Linked DNA regions of Homo sapiens: regions 1 and 2 are each linked to region 3. The links are contacts of gene promoters, found by promoter capture Hi-C in human tissues and cell types (Jung and others, 2019). All regions are on one chromosome and are shown on one strand. Each heading gives the region's core, a stretch centred on a gene start or on the middle of the fragment in contact. The rest is flanking DNA. Distances are from core to core; before and after follow the strand shown.

Region 1 (3,654 bases), core at 87-2,586, 340 kb after region 3:
ATCTTGCAAGGGATGCATCCTAATGACCCATCCTGTCCACTTTTGTTTGGTTACTTGGTGAAGGTGGGAGTGTCTTGAACAGCATGGTGCTGTTCCCCTGGAAAGTTTATACTCATCAGTGCCCAGTTGTTTGCAGAATTCGAGAATGGATGGGAAGCACCCAGGAAACGGTTCCCAAATGGATGCATTTTGATATCTGAAATAGACTTTAAAGCTTTTGGCTTTTGATCATAAAGGGACCGGCAACATTGAGACACCTCCCCACTGCTCCTCAGGTTTTCCTGGTGCTTGAATAATTAAGGCCATGCCCTATGGAATCTCCTTCCTTGGGCTCCAGGGCATCTCTCTTAGCAAAGGCTAGCTTCTCACTCACAGTGTGCTGTGAGCGCTCTGGACGTCCTACCCAGCATTCTGCTCCATCATCTTCTTGTGTTCTGTCTCCCCCAGAAAAACTTCTGTGTAACATCAGCTGTGTTCTTTTGCTTCAATTACAGAGCTTGTTAGAATTTCTCTTCCAAATCCCTGTTTTGGGGCTTTTCTTTTCTTTTTTCTTTTTTTTTTTTTTTTGAAATGGAGTCTTGCTCTGTCACCCAGACTGGAGGACAGTGGCGTGATCTCGACTCACTGCAACCTCCGCCTCCCGGATTCAAGCAGTTCACCTGCCTCAGCTTCCTGAATAGCTGGGATCACAGGCGTGTGCCACCACACCCAGCTACTTTTTGTATTTTTAGTAGAGCCGGGGTTTCACCATGTTGGCAGGCTGGTCTTGAACTCCTGACTTCAGGTGATCCGCCTACCGTGGCCTCCCAAAGTGCTGAGATTACAGGCGTGAGCCACCGCGCCCAGCTGGGGTTTTCCTACCGTGGTTGTAAAAATTCATTTCTTGTCGCCACCTAGATTAACAAATCTCAGATTAAGAACTGGCCTTTTTTCGCCTCCTCTTTGAATTCACTGTCTAAAGAAACGGCCATTGCCCTTTCCGTAAACCAGGACAGAGGTCATGTCTGCTTTGCCTTTTTGCACCTTGGCCCCTGCCTGCCCCTCACCTCCCCACTCAGCTACAGTGACTGGAAGGGCCCACACAGGAAAGCTGGGCCCTGGGTCTTCATGGACGTTGCTGGAGGATGTGTCTCCCTGCTGGTGGCTCTCAGTCTTCCTGTGCTCAGTAGGGCCTTCTGGAGGATTCTAATTTCCCTGTCCTGGAAACCACCTTGAAAATATTCTTAAATATTCTTAGGTGGATTTAAGATGTCTCTGTCTAGTGGTTTTTTGTTTGTTTGTTTGTTTTTTAATCCATCTTAGATTTGAATGCCCAAGGAATGAACAGTCTCTTGGATCTTGTATCTCTTCCTTTTGTTTTTTAGAAAATAGCTTTTATTGATTTTTTTTTCTTGCTACAAAGAGGTTGATGATTATTGCAGAAAATTTAGGGACTATAAGTAGGCAAAAAAGATAAAAACCACCTATAATTATTAATATTTTAGTATATTGTATAGCCCCCCCAGAATATTTTTCAATTTCAAAAGATGAGATCATACTGTTTGTACCATCTTATTACTTTTTCTTTCTTTTTTTTTTTTTTTTTTTTTTGCTTTTACTTTACAACATGTGATTAAAATTTCCATCAGGTTAAGCAGCCTCCGTCAAGTCACTTTAAAGGGTTGTATAGTTCTTTTGAACAGATGGACTATCATTTATTTAACCAATCTCCTACATTTAGCTTGTTTCCTCTGTTTCTGTCTTGTAAAGAATGCTGTGGTAAACATCCTTGGGTATATTTGCCCACAGACTTGGTTATTTCCTTGGGATACATCTCCAGAAGAGAATCACTGGGCCAAGGACACATTCTAAAGGCTGTTCGTCTAGATGGGTAAATTGCCCCCAGACACATTGTATCATATTTGGATTCTGTTTAGCCAAATACTAACTCCCATTCTTTTAAACATGGTTGTGAGTCTTTCAGACCTCTGTTTCCTAATGTTTCTCACGGGTCATACAGGTTGGCTGAGAGTAAATGGCAAGGAAGGGCCTGAGAGACTCCGGGCACAGCTGACCTAGGAAAGGGAGTCTGTCATCCTGGCCCGTCGCTTTACAATGGGAGTGCGAGGGCTGGGCCCAGAGACCCTGTCTTGCCTCCCATGACCCCAGGAAGCTGCAGGCCTGTGGCTCCCCAGGGTAACCTTCTCTGGTGCCAGCCGTTAGGGTGCCCGGGACAGAGAGCTGGCTTTGAGGATTCCAGAGTCTGTCAGAGAACTTAGGCTGGTCTTTCTTCCAAGAGAATGCTCCTAAACAAACATCCTGCCCTAATCCAGAGACTAGGTTGGTGCTTATTGGGGGGCGGTGAGTGGGGGAGCCGAGGATTTCCTGTGGAGGCCTCAGACTCTAGCCCAGGAGTCCAGGCCAAGGAAGTGCCTCTGCCCAGACTTTCAGCCCCTTGAAGCCCAGTTCTTCGTCATCACTTGGTGTGGGGAACAGAGGGAAGTTTGATGGAATTACTGAGGAAGTAGCATTTACGTGGTCTAAATCGGACCTTCCTGTTCCCACTGCTGACCGGCTCTTCCTCCTTTTCCGCTGTCTTCCTCCTGCGTGACAGCGCATTCTTCATGGGGCCTCTGGGGCCCTTCCTGTGGGCTGAGCTTCTTTCTTCCCTTTTCTCTCCTGCCGGGACCTAGACTGGTGCCCACCTTCAGGACTGGGCACATCCAGGCACCTCACAGCCCCTTCCCTCCTCCAGCTCTGCTACCAACGCCCCTGCACCCTTCCGTCCAGGCAGGGCTGTCCCAGCTGAGGCCCAAGCCCAGCCCACCCTTTCTTCTCAGTTCTGCCAAGAAGGCCATGGGGGCTGGTGGAGGCCCGAACTGCCTCCCCGCCCCCGGGGAGACACAGCATGCCAGCTGCTGCCGGGATGGGTTACAAAAAACAAAAACACAAACCCCAGCCCCTTGAGATGAGGGACGTTTCGGTTTCTGTGAACCTGACGCCTCATGTGTGTTGGAAATGAGAGGCGCAGTTTGGGAGAAGGAGGCTGCATGTTTCCCCTGGGGTGGGCTTTGTTTAAATTTTAATATGCTCTTCCTTTTTCTCAAAGTGCCAGCAATGGCTCCCAGCTCCTTTGTCATTTTAGCCCCGTTATCTGTCTGGGGATGAGATCTCTTATCTGCCCGGTCCTCCCTCTCCTCCCTGAATGGCGGGTCCCCCACCCGCCTCCCCGCAACTTGTGACAGTGTTACAGATCTCATTCTGCAACCTTAGATTCAGATGAAACTTGTCACTTTGCTTCTTTAATCAATTAAGATTTGGGGAAAGCAGGGGTCCATTTGTGATAGTGTTGGACCCACCAAGGGCATGAGTAGTGGGCAACTTTGGAGTCCTGTGAGAGAGGGTGTGGCACCCCCCCCCCCTTAGCAGCCTGGGGGACGTCAGCTCCAAGGGTGAGGGTTTCAGCCCTGGGTTCCTTGCTATGGAGTCAAACGTTTCTCCAGTGTGTGTTCAGACTTCTGACCTGGACCCGCCTTAGCCTTGGGGAGCTCTCTCAACTGCGTCCTTTGTTGGATGGAAACTGCATTAGACACAGAAACACAGAGCTGCTCTTTTCCCCACAGGCAGGTGCAGACCTGAAAGAGCCCCGCTGAAGCGGCTCAGAGGCAAGGGGAG
Region 2 (3,751 bases), core at 393-2,892, 320 kb after region 3:
GGCCTTGGGGCTCTCGTTTCTAAAGGCCCAGGGCTCAGGGCTGGGGGGAGGGGTGAGGAGTGGCAGGTCGTGTCCCCGGGAGGCTGCAGTCACTGGGGGAGAGACAATGGGGCTCAGCATCTGCTCCTCCCTGGGAGAAGGGACCCTTCAGTGAAAAGCCAGGGAGAGCAGGGAAGTGTGGGAGGAATTGATGAGGAGAAGGGGTGGAGCCAAGGAGATGCAGCCGGGAGGAAGGAAGGGAAGGGAAGGAAGGGAAGAGGGAGGGGAGAGGATCCAGGCTTTCCTTCCTCCCGGTGACCTGGTCCTGAGCCGCAGCTTCCCTTGCATTGTTCCCTGAGTTTGCTCTCGGGGCCCACCGAGACCTCACGTTTCTCCCCCTGGCTGCAGCCCCAGTCCGAGGGCCCGGCATCCAGCAGGTGCTCAATACTTACTTGGGAAAATGACAAATGTGACCAACTTTGCTTTGGGAACTTTCCCCCGTCTTCTCCCCACTCCTCCGGAGAACCCGAGGACAGAGCAGGTCTTGGGAGCACGCCCGGGCGCCCCATGAATAATTGACCCTTCCTGGCGGCACTGCCCGGCTCTGTCCGAGGGCTCCGGACCCGCCCTGCGTTGCAGTCGAGAAACGGCTCGGAGTGGCGGGTGTTCTGGAGGTTGGAGGCCTGGTGTCCGGCCTGCGCCGGAGCTGGAGGGCGGCGAGGCTGTGCCAAACCCCGCGGCCCCTCAGGGAGCCGAGAGGGACCTGACGGCCGCGCTGCCAGCGACCACGCCTCGGCGCCCCCCAGCAGTGCGCCCCGGGGCCGAGGCCCAGGCCCTGGGCTCGGGGACCCCGCCAGCCCGCCGATCCCAGCAGCTGCCCTGAGCCCCTTCTCCACCCGGGCCCTGGCGCTCGGAGCCCGCGCCGCTCCCTCGAGTCAGGCCGTCCAGGGCTCTGCTAACAGCTGTTTAAAGGCTTTTGCTGTTCAGTGCTCTGCGGGGATGTTTGTTCCAGGCCCATCTGCCTACTTTAAAAATACATAAGTGAAGCACACACACCCAGCTTGCCACCTCTGGCTGGGGAGGGGCGGGCTCGGCGGCCCTCGCTCGCACTTGGGAAGGAACCGGCACCCAGGAGCCGCACCCGTGCCCCAACACCCGCACCGGCTCTCCTCTCCAGAGGACGCCCCTGGCTTCCCTTGGGGGGGGCGGGGCGCAGGGCCCCCGGGCCCCCTTTGTACCGGACAGGGCCGGGCCCCCCATTTCCAAGCGAGGTCTGCCTCTTCCCCGCTTCAGTTAATCTTTGTTCCCCTTTTCTGCTGAGAGGAGAAAAAAAAAAGAGAGAGAGAGAAAGAAAGAAAAGAAGGAAAAAAGGCGTGACTTGATTTTCAAACGAAACTCCCACAGCAAACAAAACCCTTTTAGAGAAATAAGAAAGGAGGAAGAAGGAAGAAAAGAGGGAAGAAAAAAACAGGAGAAAGAAAACCCTTCAGGCTTTCAATTCGAGTGGGAGAGTTGAACCGAAAGAAAGAGAAAGAAAGGAAGAAAAATCCTCTGCGGTAGAAAGAGAAAAGAAAACTTGGGCTGACAAGAGGGAGGTGTTGGGGGTGGAAGGAAGTGAGAAAACAAAAGAGAGATAAAAGGGCTGCTTTTCTGTCTCTCTCTTCCTCTGCGAGCTGGCTTAGGAGGAGCTGTTTTGCATCCCTTCACGTCAGCCCTGCCTCATTCCCTTCTTCCAGGGAGGGAGAGAGCGCGAGCGAGAGAGCGAGCGAGAGGAGGGGGGAGAGAGAGAAAGAGAGGAGCCGGAGGGAGGGCGGCAGGAGCAGGCGGCGGGCGCGCGTGGAGGCGGGCGGCGGGCGCACAGCAGCAGCCCGGGCGGTGGGCAGCCAGGAGCCCCCGGCCCGGCCCGGCCCGGCCCGCCGAGGGCCCCAGCGCAGGAGCCGCGCCCGGACCCAGGGTGAGTGTCCCGCGCGGCCCCCCGCCCCAGCCCCAGCCCCAGCCCCGCAGCCCCGCGCTGCCGGCCGGCGGGGGCGCGGGGGGCGCGGGGGTGGGTCGCTGCGGCCGCGGCCGACCCGCCCCCCGCCTCTCCCTGGGGACGGCCGCGCGCAGGCCCGCGCCGCGCTGCAAACATGTCGTCTTTTCCTTTCACTTCCACATTCCCTCATGCCGGAGAGCTGGAGGGAGAGAGGGAGAGCCGGGGAAAGAGGGAGAGATGGCGTCTGGGGTGGGGGGGAGGGAGAGGAGGGGGAGGGGGAAGGGAGAGGGAGGGAGCGAGCGAAAGAGGGCGAGAGGGAGGAGAGCGCGCGAATGAGAGAGAGAGAGAGAGAGAGAGAGAGAGAGGCAAAAATGAAAGGAAAGCGTCGCGGCGGCGGCGGCGGCGGCGCGGGAGGCCCGGGAGGCGACGGTGGCGGAGGCTCTCGGGCCCGCACGTGGGTGTCCCGGTGCTGGGTGCGCTCCCCCCACACCCGGCCCGGGACTCAAAGTTTCACCCCCTCGCCGCCCCGCCCCTACGGCTGCCCACAAACTTTATTCTCGGAGCGGGTGGGGTTGTTGCGCGTCCCAGCCGGCCGGGGGTGGGGGAGAGCTGAGCGCGCCGCTGGCGGGGCTGGGGGCGTCCCCGAGGGCCACTGGCCGCCGCACGCTGGGCGCCGCGGGATCTCCGCCGGGACAGCGTCGGGGCGCCGCGGGCCGGGGACCCAGGACCGGCGCTCGCTGTCTGGGGGCGTGGGGGTGGGGGTGGCGGGCGGGGTCCCTACGGCCCGTCTTGAGCCTCCCGCGGCTCAGCCCCCCTTCCTCCTCGTCGCCCTCTCTCCGTCTTCTCGCGGTCATTTTCCTAATTGGATGGAGCTGTGGGGCGTGAGCACCAGCGTCAGATCGGGGCCCTCAGGCTACCAGGTGGGCGCGCGGGCTCGGGGACCGACGGGGCAGCCCCAGCCTCCCCACCCTAGGCGCACAGATCCCGCAGATCCGGCCCTTGGGCCACCGCCCCCTTCACCGCGGACTTGCTAACTAGTGCGTATCGGGTTTTTTTCCAACTTGCCTTTTAAGATGACTTTTATGGGCGCTGCAACTGCTTCCCTCCAGTCTAAGCTGTAGTTTGGAAAGATTTAAGAGGCCAGGGAGGTGCTTGTGTGGATTTTAACCAACCTGAAAGGGTCATTCATGTATCTCTAGGATTTGCGAGACGGTTAGGGCAAGGCGTAGCAGTATCCGGGGTGCCTTTTCTTTTTTCTTGATATGGAGTCTTGCTCTGTCGCCCAGGCTGGAGTGCAGTGGCGCGATCTCGGCTCACTGCAGCCTCCGTCTCCCGGGTTCAAGCGATTCTCCTGCCTCAACCTCCCCAATAGCTGGGACTACAGGCGCACGCCACCACGCCCGTTTAATTTTTAATTATTTTTAGGAGAGACGGGGTTTCACCATATTGGCCAGGCTGGTCTCAAACTCCTGACCTCGTGATCCGCCCGCCCCGGCCTCCCAAAGTGCTGGGATCACAAGGACTCTTCGAGGTACTCGTCCTACTGGGTCTGAGGGAGGCCTGCCGGGCAATCCAGTGAGGGACCAACGTCATGGCCCACCCTTGAGCTGCAGGCCGAGTGCCCACCTGCAAAGGGCACCCTGAGCACCTTTCTTGCTGTGCAAAATGGAAACTCCCGGCCGGTATCGACCTGCAGTGTACATAACTAGTCCCTGTGGGCATCTGGGAAATTCACAAAACTCCCCCACAGGTGTGCGGAGAAGGACTTTGTGCTCTTGGGGGTCACTCAGCCAGCTTTGA
Region 3 (3,870 bases), core at 1,327-3,826:
TTCCTAGTGCAGGAGTTAGTAAAAGCGTAACTTGGGCAAGGTGGATATTGCACAGGTTCATAATTTTTAAGTTTCACTATCCGAACTGTGCCCAAATCTGAGATGCCTTGCCAGGAGCCATCAAGCATCCCTAAAAGTATCAAATCACTTCAAGTCACAGTGAAAACCAGGTCAGAGATAGAACACCAGACACATGGAATATCCCACCCTTCCCCCCACACAGCAGCACAGGCTGTGCACCGTCTAACTCCGACAGGTGACATTTGCCGTTATGAATGATGCTGGAGACACAGAATACAGTGGCTCTGCACTGAATGCACATCCAGCTGGGTGGTGGACAGAGCATGGGCTTCTGCGTCAGGGTTTAAACAGTAGTTTCCTTCCTCTCCACTCCCCCCGTCCCTAAGCCAGGATTTCTGTCCCTTTTTTTCAAGGTGCTTAATTTTTAATAGGCATCTTTTTTTCCCCTCCCAGATCCTCCAACTGCCCCCTACAAAAGGTGGTGAGGGCAAGAATAACTAAGCCATGGTAGTCAATGAACTAGGATTATAATCTGGGAATATCTTGCTCTAAGTCCCCTGCATCTCCCCTCCCTGCTTCTTCCTCCTCCCTCAGTTGTCCATCCCCTGTCACAGATGAGCCCAAGTTACTTACAGGGAGGTCTCCATCCAGCAAGGTGAGGCCTTTGTTGACTGCCATCCTCGCTCCTCAAGCTGCAAAACAGAGTCCCAGGTCCCATCAGAAGCCCTCAGGCTTGAGCTCCACTGGGTCACTTCCCTACCTCTCATGGCCACCAACTAGGCCCAGGCTGCCTGGGGGCCCATTTGCCCTGAACAGAAGGCATTAGGTTGGAGGGTGAATATCACACACAATAGCCCCACTCCTTAGGGTCCCATAGCAATGAGTTGCTCCATAGCTTACTTGTCAAGACTGATGTTTCTTTCTTTTTCTTTTCTTTCTTTCTTTTTTTTTTTTTTTGAGATGGATTCTTGCTCTGTTGCCCAGGCTGGAGTGTAGTTGCACAATCTCGGCTCACTACAACCTCCGCCTCCCGGGTTCAAGGGATTCTCCTGCCTCAGCCTCCCAAGTAGCTGGGATTACAGGCGCCCACCACCACGCCCGGCTAGTTTTTTTTTTTTTTTCTGTTTAGTAGAGATGGGGTTTCACCATGTTGGCTAGGCTGGTGTCGAACTCCTGACCTCAAGTGATCCACCTGCCTAGACCTCCCAAAGTGCTGGGATTACAGGCATGAACCACCACACTGGCTAATTTTTGTATTTTTAGTAGAGATGGGGTTTCATCATGTTGGCCAGGCTGGTCTCGAACTCCTGGCCTCAAGTGATCTGCCCACCTTGGCCTCCCAAAGTGCTGTGATTACAGGCAAGAGCCACCATGCCCGGCCAAGAATAATGTTTCCTATAAGAGTTCAGGTTAAGAGGCCAGGCGCGGTGGCTCAGGCCTGTAATCCCGGCACTTTGGGAGTCCAAGGCAGGCAGATCACCTGAGTTCAGGAGTTCAAGACCAGCCTGGGCAACATGGTGAAACTCCGTCTCTGCTAAAAATACAAAAATTAGCCAGACGTGGTGGTGGGCAGCTGTAATCCCAGCTACTTGGGAGGCTGAGGCAGGAGGATCGCTTGAGCCTGAGAGGTGGAGGTTGCAGTGAGCTGAGATCCTGCCACTGCACTCCAGCCTGGGTGACAGAGGGAGACTCTGTCTCAAAAAAAAAAAGGAGTTCAGGTTAGGAAATAAAAAATGCAGGTAGCCATAAGAGATAAAAAGTTTTAGATAAAATCTTAAGGCTCTTAAATGAGGGTCCAAAAGAGACTAAAACAAGAAGTTTCAAGCTGGGTGCACTGGCAAGCACCTGTAATCCCAGCTACTGAGGCTGACATGGGAGAATTGCTTGAGCCCAGGAGTTTGAGATCAGCCTCGGCAATACAGTGAGATGCCCATCTCTAAAAAAATAAATAAACAAGTTAAAGGTTTCATCTTTGAAAAGGCTCTGGGTTAATTCCTCTATTTCTCTCTTTCTCTCTGTCTGTCCCTCTCCCCCTCTCCCTATCTGTTTTTTGAGACAGGGTCTCAATCTGTTGCCCAGGATGGAATGTGGTGGCACGATCATGGCTCAATGCAGCCTTGACCTCCTGGGATCAAGGTACCCTCCCACCTCAGCCTCTCATGTAGCTGGGACTACAGGCATGCACCACAATGCAGGGCTAATTTTTTCTCTTTTTTTATAGAGACAGGATCCCACTGTGTTGCCCAGGTTGTTCTTGAACTCCTGGGCTCAAGTGATCCACCTGCCTTGGCCACCTGCAGTGCTGGGATTAAAGGCATGATCCACTGTGCCTATCCAATTCCTCTATTTCTAGATTCTGGTATCTATACCAGAATCTCTCCCTCAGTAGTTTCCCTGCAGAGTTTTTCATCCCCAGCAAAATCCCCAAGAGGCCCTTACCTTCAACTTCTTCCCTTTAATGTTCATAAACAAGCCATGTAAGGCAGGTGCCCCAGGACCCCAACACTCACTCCGGCTGACCGCCACCTCAGTCTCACAGAGCCCAGGCTGCAGAGTGTCTCCTCAGGCAGAAACAATTCCTGTCACTCCTGGGAGGCTTGGGCAATGCTGCTTCCACCTCCCAGCTAGAGGAGGGCAGAGAGGGAGAGACAACAGGGTCAGCCAGTTGTCATGGTTATATGACCCAGGGTTCCCCAGGCATATCCTAACTTCTCTAAGGACATTTAGCAAACAAGGAGGTAGGTGGCAGAGCTGAAGGAGATCCAGGCTCAGAGGACTTAGTATTCCAGAGCCATGAAGCATCAGTTCTGTAATGTTCCTGCCCTCAATTCACAAAAATCTGCTTTCCAGAAAGAAGGTATAGGGATAGACATCATTAAACTCAAAAGCTCTAAAGTTCTATATACCTCTGCAATCTTTTGGCTCCTTTTCCATAGAGGGTCTTGTGGGAGTTTTCAATCCATTTCTCTCATCTTTTCTTATTTACTAGCAAGACTGAATGCTGAACAGTAAAATTTAAACCCACACAGAAGAGTTCATCTGAATGTATTCATCTTTGATTATGGAGATAAATTGCCCTCAGTGAAGAAGCGACAGAGCCGGGAGTTGAGTTTTTGACAATATAGCCTTTGAGTTGAGGGAGGAATTCCCACTTCTTAGAATTCAAAAAAATTTATTGAACTTTACCTGGCCTAAGATGCTACCAGAATGAAGAGTAGGAGAGCCAAGTAGATTTTTATTCTCCTGGGTCTGGATAAGCGACAGTGTTGACTAGGATTCTATCACTAATCAAGAGCACCCAGACAGCCAAGAATTAGCACCACTCAACCCTTCTTTACCCAGGACTCAAGCACAAGCCCAAGTTCTAGTTCCTGGCTTTAGATATGATGGAGGACTATGGTATAAGCCATAGCTTTCAGATTAACTAAGAAGGGCCTCTTCATGAAAACAGACAATAGGAAAACAAAACTTATTTTCTTTGTTGCTGGTGGAATTATATGTATTGTTGACTCTGTTAAGTCACACAGTGTGGGCAAGAGAAGAAAGAGGCAGGGGTGGGGAATTATGAAAGATCCTTGGTAATAAATTACGTATCTGTGATGCAATAAAGTAGGGAATGAGAAGGCAGGAAAGGGAGGAGTCAAGCAGGGAGGCTTCAAAGGAGTAATACGCTATACGTTTAATACTTATTGATCCAACCTGTGCTTTTCAAATGTAAGGCAGTAGAGAAGACAAAGTATTTAAAGAAGTGGCCTCTGCCCTCACCTCAAGGTTCAGCACAAATTATCTGTGAGGCTGTGACTGGACAGCAACCTGAGCCAAAGGGCAGTTTTCAGCCTTCAGAGTAGT

Evidence for each region. Contacts are between HindIII fragments. The study calls those that stand out against the background at their distance.
Region 1: a fragment that was not itself captured here is called in contact with the fragment with the promoter of PLIN1 in region 3 in 1 of the 25 tissues and cell types used here (mesendoderm cells).
Region 2: a contact is called between the fragment with the promoter of ZNF710 here and the fragment with the promoter of PLIN1 in region 3, in 2 of the 25 tissues and cell types used here (mesendoderm cells and thymus).

Annotation. Positions count from the first base shown.
Region 1 is chr15:90,017,620-90,021,273 of GRCh38, forward strand. All of the region lies in intron 1 of ZNF710 (zinc finger protein 710), which reads left to right. Among named protein-coding and RNA genes, the nearest start is that of MIR3174, 13 kb to the left of the region's middle. The HindIII fragment of the contact is 6,651 bases long and covers 1-3,654 here.
Region 2 is chr15:89,999,682-90,003,432 of GRCh38, forward strand. It overlaps ZNF710 (zinc finger protein 710), which reads left to right and starts at 1,643. Exons shown (of 5, transcript NM_198526.4): 1 at 1,643-1,933. RefSeq lists silencers at 1,095-1,264, 1,673-1,841, 2,257-2,756 and enhancers at 2,456-3,224, 3,225-3,751. The HindIII fragment of the contact is 12,330 bases long and covers 1-3,751 here.
Region 3 is chr15:89,676,791-89,680,660 of GRCh38, forward strand. PLIN1 (perilipin 1) reads right to left here and starts at 2,577. Exons shown (of 9, transcript NM_002666.5): 1 at 2,461-2,577; 2 at 655-713. The coding sequence starts at 699. The HindIII fragment of the contact is 12,360 bases long and covers 1-3,870 here.